Linked DNA regions of Homo sapiens: regions 2, 3, 4 and 5 are each linked to region 1. Evidence: promoter capture Hi-C in 16 types of primary human blood cells and fetal thymus (Javierre and others, 2016). All regions are on one chromosome and are shown on one strand. Each heading gives the region's core, a stretch centred on a gene start or on the middle of the fragment in contact. The rest is flanking DNA. Distances are from core to core; before and after follow the strand shown.

The links. Contacts are between HindIII fragments. The CHiCAGO score rates a contact against its expected background, and 5 or more counts as called.
Region 2: a contact is called between a fragment that was not itself captured here and the fragment with the promoter of TRMT11 in region 1, in 2 of 17 cell types (naive B cells and non-activated CD4 T cells). The highest score is 5.7, in naive B cells.
Region 3: a fragment that was not itself captured here is called in contact with the fragment with the promoter of TRMT11 in region 1 in 2 of 17 cell types (naive CD8 T cells and activated CD4 T cells); the score reaches 6.7 in naive CD8 T cells.
Region 4: a contact is called between a fragment that was not itself captured here and the fragment with the promoter of TRMT11 in region 1, in 3 of 17 cell types (naive B cells, total B cells and naive CD8 T cells). The highest score is 8.6, in naive B cells.
Region 5: a contact is called between a fragment that was not itself captured here and the fragment with the promoter of TRMT11 in region 1, in 1 of 17 cell types (total B cells). The highest score is 6.9, in total B cells.

What each region holds. Positions count from the first base shown.
Region 1 is chr6:125,985,282-125,987,798 of GRCh38, reverse strand. TRMT11 (tRNA methyltransferase 11) reads right to left here and starts at 1,259. Exons shown (of 13, transcript NM_001031712.3): 1 at 1,177-1,259. The coding sequence starts at 1,248. RefSeq lists enhancers at 376-1,205, 739-1,228, 1,206-2,036. The HindIII fragment of the contact is 7,229 bases long and covers 1-2,517 here.
Region 2 is chr6:125,264,709-125,267,225 of GRCh38, reverse strand. No RefSeq gene overlaps it. Among named protein-coding and RNA genes, the nearest start is that of HDDC2, 36 kb to the left of the region's middle. The HindIII fragment of the contact is 1,857 bases long and covers 331-2,187 here.
Region 3 is chr6:125,283,555-125,286,071 of GRCh38, reverse strand. The region is part of intron 4 of HDDC2 (HD domain containing 2); the gene reads left to right. Among named protein-coding and RNA genes, the nearest start is that of HDDC2, 17 kb to the left of the region's middle. The HindIII fragment of the contact is 4,794 bases long and covers 1-2,517 here.
Region 4 is chr6:125,332,026-125,334,542 of GRCh38, reverse strand. No RefSeq gene overlaps it. Among named protein-coding and RNA genes, the nearest start is that of HDDC2, 31 kb to the right of the region's middle. The HindIII fragment of the contact is 1,193 bases long and covers 667-1,859 here.
Region 5 is chr6:125,352,118-125,354,634 of GRCh38, reverse strand. It overlaps LOC107986640 (a long non-coding RNA gene), which reads right to left. Exons shown (of 3, transcript XR_001744328.3): 3 at 1-2,488. Among named protein-coding and RNA genes, the nearest start is that of HDDC2, 51 kb to the right of the region's middle. The HindIII fragment of the contact is 9,886 bases long and covers 1-2,517 here.

The sequences.
Region 1 (2,517 bases), core at 10-2,509:
GTTCTCTATTTTAAATGGAGACACTCCTACCTATATACACCCCAGGAGTCATACCTGACTGGTGCCCCTTTCCCACATATTCAATCAATCCAGCCTTAATGACTGTATGGCCTAAATATTTTCCCAGTCTATCCCATCCTCTTACTCCTTGCCCTAGGTCAGACCTTCTTAATCTATTAACAAGACTATTCCCACAGACTCCTAGTCTCTGGCTCAAGTCTTATTCTTTTCAAATCCATCCTCCATAGTGTTGTCAAACTGATTTAATTTTGTGGTCACTTTTTTACTTAAGGCTTTTCAATAAATCCCCCTTCCAAGCTCCAGGGTACTCAAGGTTTTCATTTTCTGGCCTCGATCTACTTCCCTTGCTCTCTTCTTACCACTCTGCCACATAACTAGTGATCCAGTAATAATGAACACCTTGTAATTCTAATTTACTGATTTATCTCCTTGGCCCTCTAACTCCTATTCATCCTTTATTTCAAGTGTCATCTCCTCTGGAAGCCCTCTTAAAGGCCAACATCCCCAACCCCTCAGGTAGATTAGATTTCCCTTCCACGTGCTCTCATATTTCCATGTGCATCTATCACTGCACTTACCGACGCTCTTTTGTCATTCTACGCCTATGTGTCTGCTCAGCCCTTACTCTAAACAGTAAGCTCCTAGAGGGCAGAGATTGCTTACATCATCGTTACATGCCCAGCGTACCGATCTTCGACTACATGCATTCTGAAAACGTTTCTTGAATAAATAAAACACTCTTCTCAACTTCTCCATCATCTAATCCCCACCACCATCCCCTCCACTGAGCTTGATCCGCAGATTCCAATACTTCAAACACCAGCCTGAGCATTTGTTAGCTGTCTCTATTCTCCGCTAGACGAAGAGCTCCGGGAGTGAGATGACCGGTCATATTCACCTGCCTAACTCCGGTACTTGATACACGGGCAAAAGAATGAAAAGTTTAAGCAGGCCGAGGGGTTTGGTCTCGGACTTCTCTCACACACACCCTCCGCCAAGCTCACCCCGCCCGAGGACTGGGGACGCGTGACCCGCGCAGACCAGCGAAGACCCCCGAATCCCAGCTTCCTCGGGCTATGCAGATCACCTCCACCCACTCCACTCCACTCCAGCGTCCTCTTCCGTCGGAAGTTCCGGAGGGCGCTACGGACTCACCGGCAGGCGGAACTCCAGATGCTCCTGCGCCATGAGGAGCAGATACCTGTTAAGGGTACACGACAGCGCCATTGCAGCTGCCCACCGTGCGCCTGCGCGGCCCGCGCTAGGTCCCTCTTTCTCCCTCCCAAAGCCCAGTCTCCACAGAGACAGAGCCTGAAGGGCCGGAAGCGGAAGCTCTGCGAGGCAGGCGCTATCCCGACGTTTCTCGCGCTCCGAGTCCGAAACTCCGGCCGCTGTGGGAGGGGCTTCCTCACCTGTGAATGCCTGGTGGTTAGGGGTCTCCCAGCGCTGGTAGCTGGTGAGCGGGGACGCGTGGCTTTCAGGAGCAGCCTGTGATAATAAGACAGTATATTTCCAAGTTATCGTTCCACTTGGAGTGTGCTTCCAGCTTTCTCTACAGCCCTTCAAAACCTGTTCTTCAAAATTGGACTGAAATTTCACCATTTCCTTGGAAATTTCACCATTTCCTTGTAGGTTTGTCTAACCAGCACAGCTTTGGGAACTGATTTAGTTGGGCCAGTCATTTAACAGTATATTTTTCGTATTTATGTAACAACTTTTCGAGAGCACATGCCTTATAACCCAATTATAATAAACTCTTGAGGTCTGATATAATCTTTTATGGTTCACTCTATTCTTAACAAAAACCAAAAGAATATCTTCCTCAAAGTAGGCAATAATTATTAGGTTGTGTTATTTGTTAGACTCAGGACTAAATCCACAGCCAGCCATAAATTAAAACTTGGAGAAAGCTCACACTGGCACAGATTTCATAGCAGATAGTTTATGAAATATATTTTAATTGCATATTCTATGTATATATGTGACTTTTTTTTTTTAAGACAATCTTGCTCTGTCACCCAGGTGAGTGCAGTGGCGCAATCATAGCTCACTGTAACCTTGAACTCCTGGTCTCAGGGGATACTCCTACCCTAGTCTCCCAAAGTGCTAGAATTACGGGCTCAAGCCCTCCCTCTGGGCTATTTCTGCTTTTGAGAGTACCGAGCCCTTTGCCCTATTAAAAATTATTTATTTTGCATTTCTCTGTGGTATTGTACAAGGTGCAAAAGAGTATGTATCTGGCATATCCCCAGCGGCATGTGCCAGAAACGTAGTTGATGCGCAGTGGTAGTGATTAAGAACATAGGCTGTGGTGTCAATATTAGATTCAAACCTCACTTCCACCATTTACCATGTATATGCTCTTAACCTCTCCGAGCTTGAGTTTTCTTTTAAAAATGGAAAAACACACTGCCTCCTGCAAAGGATTGTTACAAGGATTAAGTGGAATAATGTTCATAAAGTGTTGAATATAACATCTGGCATATTGAATGGGGC
Region 2 (2,517 bases), core at 10-2,509, 720 kb after region 1:
TATAATGGATGGATATGTATTATATATATTATATATATAATGTGTGTGTACATGAATATACCCTCTGGTGTGAACTGAAAGTCAAGCAGAAATGTAGCATAAAGAATTTTACCATGCTTAGAAGTTATCAAAAGTAGCCATAAGATTTTGCCAAATATTGTTATAGTTTGAAATTACATTTGAATGCTAGGTTTGAAGAAGTTGTTTCACATTTCATATTAAGTCACTTTTCAACCTTACCACCATCTTCCTTTATCACACTACTTCCACTCAAATTGAATACTAAGTGAGAGGAGGACGATGGGGTTGATGTTGAACAACTTTAAAGCTTACACGTAATTTTGGAACAATGAACAGTGACAGAAGAGCCGTGTAGATCCCTGGGTTCCCTCTACACTGGCCACTGTGAACGGCATGGCATATCATGAAGACACATCCTAAAGCATGCACTTTGTTCTGTTTGCTATGGTTCAAGAACAGATTTCTAACAAAATGTGTAATTTAGAGTAAGATATGCAGATTGCATTGCTAAAATGACCTGCCAATAGTTGTAATCTTTTTTTGAGACAGGGTCTCATCTCTCTGTCACCCAGGCTGGAAGGCAGTGGCAAGATCTCGGCTCACTGCAGCCTCTGCCTCCCTGGTTCGAGAGATTCTCCCACCTCAGCCTCCCAAGTAGCTGGGATTACAGGGATGTGCCATCAAGCACAGCTAATTTTTGCATTTTTAGTAAAGACGGGGTTTCACCGTGTTGGCCAGGCTGGTCTCGAACTCCTGACCTCAGTTGATCCACCCACCTTGGCCTCCCAAAGTTCTGGGATTACAGGCATGAGCCACCATGCCCAGCCAATAGTTGTAATCTTTATGTGATGTGAGTTGTGAGATAAAGTAGCACTGTAAATTTACAAATATGTTCATCATAGCAACTGTGTTTAAAATGTGGTAAATCGTTAAATTTCAGAATGGCTTACTTTTTTTAAAAGCTAGTTTGTTTTGTAATCACAATTGCATCAGAATTTTTGATAATTGAAAGAATTGACGCCTGAGCCACTCGGGGATTAGGCCTGCACAGTCAAAAATCCGATTCTAGGTTGGGAGTTGTGGCTCACGCCTGTAATCCCAACACTTTGGGAGGCCAGGGCAGGTGGATCACAAGGTCAGGAGTTCAAGACCAGCCTGGCCAAGATGGTAAAATCCTGTCTCTACTAAAAATACAAAAATTAGCCAGGCGTGGTGGTAGGTGCCTGTAATCCCAGCTACTCGGGAGGCTGAGGCAGAGAATTGCTTGAACCCAGGAGGCAGAGGTTGCAGTGAGCCAAGATTGCACCACTGCACTCCAACCTGGGCAACAGGGTGAGACTCAGTCTCAAAAAAATAAATAAATAAATAAAACAAAAATCTGATTCTAACTTTGGACACCCCCTAAACCTAACTACCAACAGCTACTGTTGACCATAAGCCTTGTTGATAACATAAATGGCCAATTAACACATATTTTTATGTTATATGCATTACATGTGGTATTCTTACAATAAAGTAAGCTCTGGAAACAAAATGTTAAAAGAAAAACAACAGAGATAATATATGTACTATTCATTAAGTGGAAGCAGATGATGATAAAGGTCTTTATCCTCATTGTCTTCATGTTGAGTAGGCTGCAGAAGGGGAGAGGTTGGTATCACTGTTTCAAGGGGTGCCAGAGGCAGAAGAAAATCTGCACATAAGTGGACCCTCACAGTTCAAACTCCTGTTGTTCAAGGGTCAACTGTACATTTTCTGTGGAGGTATCCTTTCATACACACATGGTGTTGACCTGAAGTCATTTTGGTTTGTTAGTAAAAGGTTATGTCCATTGTGTGCAATTACTTTTTAGGACTTGTGAAACACTTTAAACTACTGCTTGTGAACTGAGCCTCACTAGATGTAATTGAGAAGCTCAGCAATCAGTCCCATCAGGATGATCTTGCACACCCATGGTGAGGGAGGACCAGGCAGCTCTTAGTGATGCTCCTGAAGCTAAGAGTAGGCTCACTGCCTAAACTAGGTAAGACTGCCCACCTACCAACAAGTGTTTGATTTATCTAATCTGAGTTATTCACACACATTTTATGACAAAAATAAAAAATGCTACTTATGCCATGGCCATTATGAATATCACTTCTAGGTCAGAGTGAATAATGAAAAGCTTTTAGATGAATAGAGATGATGTGCATAAGATTCTTACCAAACTAATGAAATCAGAATTTTGATGAATGGAATAAAATAAATAGCTAAAATGTGTTGGAAGCTTTAAGATATTACCACAAGTTTTCTTGATTGTTTTTCTATCCAATTCTAATATTGTGTTTTCAGATTATAAGGCTGAGACTATGGTGTGCAGAAATTGGTTGGTGAACGGAGATATTTGTTTAAAGTACCATAACTTTATCTAATACAATGCGGTGTGCTGAATATGGTAAAAAAAGAAGGTGGCAGGGAGTTTTCACAAGTTAGCCACTTCACACTCAACAGGCAGCT
Region 3 (2,517 bases), core at 10-2,509, 700 kb after region 1:
GTTTCACTGCATGTAAAATCCTTGTTCCCAGTTTCTTTTCTTGAATATCTTAAATCAGATTATTTATATCAAAATGGAACAGATTTAAGATTTAAGGTCCCGGGATCCTTATATTGCTCTACATCAAGCCCCAACTGTACTTTGAGGGACAGATGGGGAGAGACATTTTTAAAAGGGTACTTGTTAAGCCAACTGTATCTCCAGTTGACTGAACTTCTGACAATGTGGAGAAGCTGTTGAAGTCTGATCATAATTTTATTTTCCTTAAATGCCAGATACTCTTTTTACGTGGGTGTCCAAAGGATTTTTTTTCTTTTAAGTCTGGTAATTTTATTAGAATGTATCTTCATGTTGCTTATTCTGGGTTAATATCCTTAGGTATTTAGCATGAATTTTCAATATATACTCTGAATTTTTTTTTTAATTTAATTTTAAGGTTTTCTTGAGGTATAGTTTTCCTTTTGCTTTGCTATTCTTTTTTCTGGGACTCTTCTGTATCTGTATGTTGGTTCTTCTTTGCCTGTCTTCACTATTTGTCACCTTATCTCAAACTCTTTATATCATCTTCATTTCTGCTCAACTTTTAAACTTTCCATTTCTATTTCTCTTAAGGCATTATTTATCATATTTAATTACCCTTGTGTTCCTTGTGTACCCTTGCGTTCCTTATTGCTTAGTTTCTAAAACAACCTTTTATCTTACATTTCACTGTTCTTATATTGTTCTTCTATGTCTTATATCATTTTCTTTTCTTTTTTTTTATACTTTAAGTTCTGGGATACATGTGCAGAACGTGCAGGTTTGTTACCTAGGTATACATGTGGCATGGTGGTTTGCTGCACCCATCAACCTGTCATCTACATTAGGTATTTCTCCTAATGCTATCCCTCCCCTTGCCCCCCACCCCCCGACAGGCCCCAGTGTGTGATGTTCCCCTCCCTGTGCCCGTATGTTCTCATTGTTCCACTCCCACTTATGAGTGAGAACATATGGTGGTTGGTTTTCTGTTCCTGTGTTAGTTTGCTGAGAATGATGGTTTCCAGCTTCATCCATGTCCCTGCAAAGTATATGAACTCATTCTTTTTTATGCGTTCATAGTATTCCATGGTGTATATGTACCACATTTTCTTTTTCCAGTCTAACATTGATGGGCATTTGGGTTGGTTCCAAGTCTTTGCTATAGTGAATAGTGCCCCATTAAACATACGTGTGCATGTGTCTTTATAGCAGAATGATTTATAATCCTTTGGGTGTATACCCGGTAATGGGATTGCTGGGTCAAATGGTATTTCTAGTTCTAGATCCTTGAGGAATCGTCACATTGTCTTCCACAGTGGTTGAACTAATTTGCACTCCCACCAACAGTGTAGAAGCATTCCTATTTCTCCACATCCTCTCCAGCATCTGTTGTTTCCTGACTTTTTAATGATTGCCATTCTAACTGGCGTGAGATGGTATCTCATTGTGGTTTTCATTTGCATTTCTCTAATGACCAGTGATAATGAGCTTTTTTTCATATGTTTGTTGGTCACATAAATGTCTTCTTTTGAAAAGTGTCTGTTCATATCCTTTGCCCACTTTTTGATGGGGTTATTTGTTTTTTTCTTGTAAATTTGGTAAAGTTCCTGGTAGATTCTGGATATTAGCCCTTTGTCAGATGGATAGATTGCAGAAATTTTCTCCCATTCTGTAGGTTGCCTGTTCACTCTGATGATAGTTTCTTTTGCTGTGCAGAAGCTCTTTAGTTTAATTAGATCCCATTTGTCAATTTTGGCTTTTGTTGCAATTGCTTTTGGTATTTTAGTCATGAAGTCTTTGCCTATGCTTATGTCCTGAATGGTATTGCCTAGGTTTTCTTCTAGGGTTTTTATGGTTTTAGGTCTTACGTTTAAATCTTTAATCCATCTTGAGTTAATTTTTGTATAAGGTGTAAGGAAAGGGTCCAGTTTCAGTTTTCTGCATATGACTAGCCAGTTTTCCCATTTATTAAATAGGGAATCCTTTCCCCATTTCTTGTTTTTTGTCAGGTTTGTCAAAGATCAGATGGTTGTAAGTGTGTGTGTTGTTATTTCTGAGGCCTCTGTTCTCTTCCATTGGTCTATATATCTGTTTTGGTACCAGTACCATGCTGTTTTGGTTACTATAGAATTGTAGTATAGTTTGAAGTCAGGTAGTGTGATGCCTTCAGTTTTGTTCTTTTTGGTTAGGATTGTGTTGGCTATGTGGGCTCTTTTTTGGTTCCATATGAAATTTAAAGTAGTTTTTTTCTAATTCTGTGGAGAAAGTCAGTGGTAGCTTAATAGGAATAGCATTGAATATATAAATTACTTTGGGCAGTATGGCCATTTTCACGATATTGATTCTTCCTATCTATGAGCATGGAATGTTTTTCCATTTGTTTGTGTCCTCTTATTTCCTTGAGCAGTGGTTTGTAGTTCTCCTTGAAGAGGTCCTTCACATTCCTTGTAAGTTATATTCCTAGGTATTTTATTCTCTTTCTAGCAATTGTAAATGAGA
Region 4 (2,517 bases), core at 14-2,513, 650 kb after region 1:
AAAAACCATGTATATATAGTCAACTAGCCTTTGACGAAAGTACAAAGAATATATAACAAGGAAAAGATAATCTCTTCAACAAATGGTGCTGGGAAAACTGAATATCCACATGTAAAATAACAAAATTAGGCCGGGCGTGGTGGCTCACGCCTGTAATCCTAGCACTTTGGGAGGCCGAGACGGGCGGATCACGAGGTCAGGAGATCGAGACCATCTTGGCTAACACAGTGAAACCCCGTTTCTACTAAAAACACAAAAAATTAGCTGGGCGTGTTGGCGGGCGCCTGTAGTCCCAGCTACTTGGGAGGCTGAGGCAGGAGAATGGCATGAACCTGGGAGGCGGAGCTTGCAGTGAGCCGAGATCGCGCCACTGCACTCCAACCTGGGAGACACAGCGAGACTCCGTCTCAAAAACAAAAAAACAAAAAAAACAAAAAAACAAAAAAAACAAAATTAGATCCTTATCTTAAACCACACACAAAAATCAACTCAAAATGGATTAAAACTTAAATGTAAGACCAGGAATGATAAAACTACTAGAACAAAACATAGGAAAAGTTTCTTGACATTGGTCTTGGCAATGATTTCTTGGATATGACACCAAAAGGACAGACAGACAACAAAAAGCAAAAATAGATAAGCAGGACTACAGCGAAATCAAAAGCTTTGGCAGAGCAAAGGAAACAATCAACAGAATGAAAAGGCAATCTATAGAATAAAAGAAAATATTTACAAATCATATATCTGATAAGAGGTTAATACCCTAAATATATAAGGTACTACTGCAACTCATTGGTAAAAATAAAAAAAATCAAATAATCCAATTTACAAATGGGCAAAGGACGCTAACAGACATTTTTCCAAAGGCATACAAATGGCCAACATGTATGTGGAAAAATGCTCAATATCACTAATCATCAAGGAAATGCAACCCAAAACCATGATGAGATATCACCTCACACCTGTTAGGATGGCTATTATCCAAAAAACACAAGACAACAGTGTTGGTGAGGATGTGGAGAACTTTGAAACCCTGTACACTATTGGTGGGAATGCAAAATAGCCACCACGGAAAACAGTATGAAGGTTCCTCAATAATTTGAGAATAGAACTACCATATGATCCAGCAATCTCACTTCTGGGTATATATTCAAAAGAAATGAAGTTCGGATCTTAAGGAGATATCTGCACTACCATGTTTACTGCAACACTATTTACAATAGCCAGGATGTAGAAATAACCTAAATGTCCACTGATGGATAAAAGGATAAAGAAAGTGTGGTAGATGCATACAACGGAATATTATTCAGCATTAAAAAAGAAGGAAATGCTGAAATATGTGACAACATGGAAAAACCTGGAAGACACTATGCTAAGTGAAGTAAGTCACAGAAGGACAAATATTGCATGACTTCACTTATATAAGGCATCTAAAATAATCAAACTCACAGACGTAGAGAGTAGAACAGTGGTTGCCAGAGGCCGAGGGGAGGAAGAAATGGGGAGTTGCTAACCAATGGATATAGAGTTTCAGTTATGCAAGATGAACAACTTCTAGAGATCTGCTGTGCAACATAGTGTCTATAGTTAGTAATACTGTATTGTACACTTAGAAATCTATTAAGAGGATAGATCTGGTAAGTGTTCCTACCACAATAAAATGAAACTTTTTAAAGTTGCTATATCAGCAGATATTTTGTACTTGAGAATCTAAGTTGAACTCATTAGACACTACTCTCTGTATTTTGCAAAAATATTAACAAATACATATCTGCAAGAAAAAAATACACTTTTCCTAATTTTGCCCACTTGCAAATTCAAAAAAAAAAAAAAAAAGGTTAAACCAGTGTCAATAAGCTTTCTCAGAGCTTTAACTGAGATCTCTAAATACCGTGCCCCACTGAAAATAACCTGTTCTCCCTGGAGAAATGGCCAATTCCAAATCTGTAACAAAAAAGTATGACAAGCCTGGAACACCTTGTCATACCAGAATCAAAGTCATGTCAAAAGATACCAAAATACATCTTAAATAAGCTCCTGCTGACCAAAGATGGGACATTCTAAACATTACTAAAAATAATATCTGTAATACATCAAATATATGTATATTCGTAAGTATATGAGGTATAAAAAAACACTGATGGATAACTTCAGAGCATGTTCAGTAATCAGTTATTATTTTGAAAACTGATGAATAAACAGAAAGAGTCAAGCATTTAAAAGTCAAGCTCTTCCTATATGAATTATACATTAGTTAACCAAATAAGGGGATGTTTTCCTTTACAGAACTATTCCAGCTAAGAAATGATAAAGGAATTCTAGAGTCAGATGAAAATTATGCCAACATTAATAAAGTAATGGATCTAGGAAATAATTATTAATGGTGGCTAGCATAGTGGGAGGGTGGGGTGGATAGAAAGAGAGATTAAGACAGAAAGAGAGAGAGAGAGGGAGAACTGAAATTAAATAACATGGACATACCTATGAAGTAATCTTGCTTAAAAAATAAAACAAATC
Region 5 (2,517 bases), core at 8-2,507, 630 kb after region 1:
GGACTATCTATCAATTGGTCTTTGACACAGTTTCAAAACAGTAATAGAACACAGCAGTAGAATATTTCATGATGATGACAGCATAGTTGGAGCATTCAAGTCACTCACTCTGAGGTTAAATTTCCAAGTGTATTTTTCTCTTAGATTTAATTTCTGGTTGAGAGAACAGTTCCAAATGTAATACAGATCTATTATATGGATATAATGGTGGAATCTGTTTTTCCTGCTTCACTACTTATTTGTCAGCTAAGAATCTTGAGCAAGACAGTTAACATCTCTGACATGATCATCTTGTTTGTAGATAGGGAGGAGTTAATGATGGTATCTCAGGGATTGGGAGAGTAGCAGTATACCTATGTATATTTAAATTATCCAAAACAAGGTAAATGTGTATGGTATGCACCATATGTAAAAATGTAAAAAGGGATAAATATAGATATTTGCTTGTATTGGAATAGAATACCTCTGGAAAAATACACAATAAATTAGTGACAGTAATTGCCTCTGTGGTGGGGACTGGGGACAGAGGTGAGAGAAAAGATTTTCATAATATGCATGCCCTTTCCTACTTCCTACTCTTCTTTCTTTTCTTCACCCATCCCTGTCTTTCTTATTGCTAGTAATGGCTAATGTAAAGCATATCACTCTTTTGCATGTATCACTCTTCTCCCTGACTCTACTGCTATGTCAGAACTGGGACTTCTACTTCACAGAAAACATAGAGATTATCTTCAGATACGTCTCAGTTTTATGATCATTGTCTTAGATATCACTTGCCTTGGCATTAGATTTTACTTTGATTTCTGCCATTTCAGAGGATAAGCTCACCTGCTCTCTTTCCTCTCTTTATTTGTATATCTGTCTCTGTCCCTCTTTTTGTACATTCTCGGTGGTATTGAAGTATCCTCATATGTTTCTTATCCTTAAAAAAACCATTCCCTAGCCTAGACCTTGTTAGCTGCCATTTTCCTTCTCTTTTCCTCTTTATAACTACATTTCTTAAAGACTTTTCTGTATTTTCCCTCTCAACTTTATCATTAATAGTCACATTTTGCCCCACTGGATTTGATTTCCTGCACTCCCCTGAAACAGTGTTCCCCAAGCTCACTAAAGGCCTCTGTTGTTATTAAACCCAATGGACGTATTTTCTATCTTTATTTGACCTCTGCCCAATACATTGTCACCAAAGTCTACTTTCTTTCCGTATTTTTCTTCTGTGACTTCCATAAAGCCTTCTTCCTTTTCCTCACCCTTGTCTGAGTGGGGAGTTTATCTTACTTGTTCTCATAAAAATCTAGGGGTACATCTAGTATGTAATCATCTATGGACATGAACACGTATTTTCTCCATTAGACTGTGATATTCTGAAGACAAGAACTGTGTCATTTCGGTTTTTGAATCCTTAGTGTCTAGGACAGTGAGTTCATCAATAAATGTTGCTTTATAGAACATTAAATGAAAGAGAAAATTTTCTTCTCTAACTTTAGTTTTAATGCTAACTGTGACAGGAACAGCTTCTTGCCTCTAATATCCTTTCTCGTTCTCTTTCTTTATAATGGAAACTTAACTGTGTTCAGCTGTGAAATTACATTTCCCGGCCTCTCTGGTTTGGCCATATGATGAGGCTCAGGGTAATGGGAGGAAAATAGAAAGTACCTCCAGAAGGCACTTTAGAAAGGAGGATCATATCTTCTTTCCTTATTGTTTCTTCCACCGTGAAGTGAATAGTTACAGCTCTATCAGCCCTCTTGTGACCTTGAGAACAGAAGGCAGAACAGCAAGAAATAAGTCTAGGTCTGTGAGATTTTTGTAGGGTTCTATGGTTTGAATGTTTGTACCCTCTCAAACTTATGTTAAATTTTAATTTCCTTTGTAACAGTATTGAAAGGTGGGAACTTTAAGAGATAATTAGACTGTGGGGGCCCTGCCCTCATGAATAGATTAATGCTGTTATTTCAGAAGTGGTTTCCAAAAGGATAAGTTTGGCTCTCTGTTCTCAATCTCTCTCTCTCTTCTCTCTTTTTTCTCTTTCTTTCTCTCTCTCTTTTTTCTTTCTCTCTCTCTCTCTCTCACTTTCCTTCTCTCTCTCCCTCTCTCCTGCCCTTTCTTTCTGTCTCCCTCCCTCTCATCCCACCCTTTGCCCTTCCTCCCTAGGATGATGTAGCAAGAAGGCCCTTGCAAGGTGCCAGCCCCTCAACCTTGTACTTCCCAGCCTCCAGAACCATGAGCCAATACATTTTTGTTCATTATAAATTACTCAGTCTGTTCTATTCTGTTACAGCAGTACAAAATGGGTTAACACAAACAGTTACCACACCAAACCTGTAAAAAATACCTCTCAACTTTTAAAAAAAAAGAGAATATGCCAGGTACTATGGCACATTCCTGTAATCCCAGCTACTCAGGAAGCTGAGGCAGGAGGATGGCTTGAACCCAAGAGTTTGCTCCACTGCCCTCCAGACTGGGGGGCAGAAAGAGGCCCTGTCTCCTGTAAAAAAAAAAAAAAGAAAAAGTAAG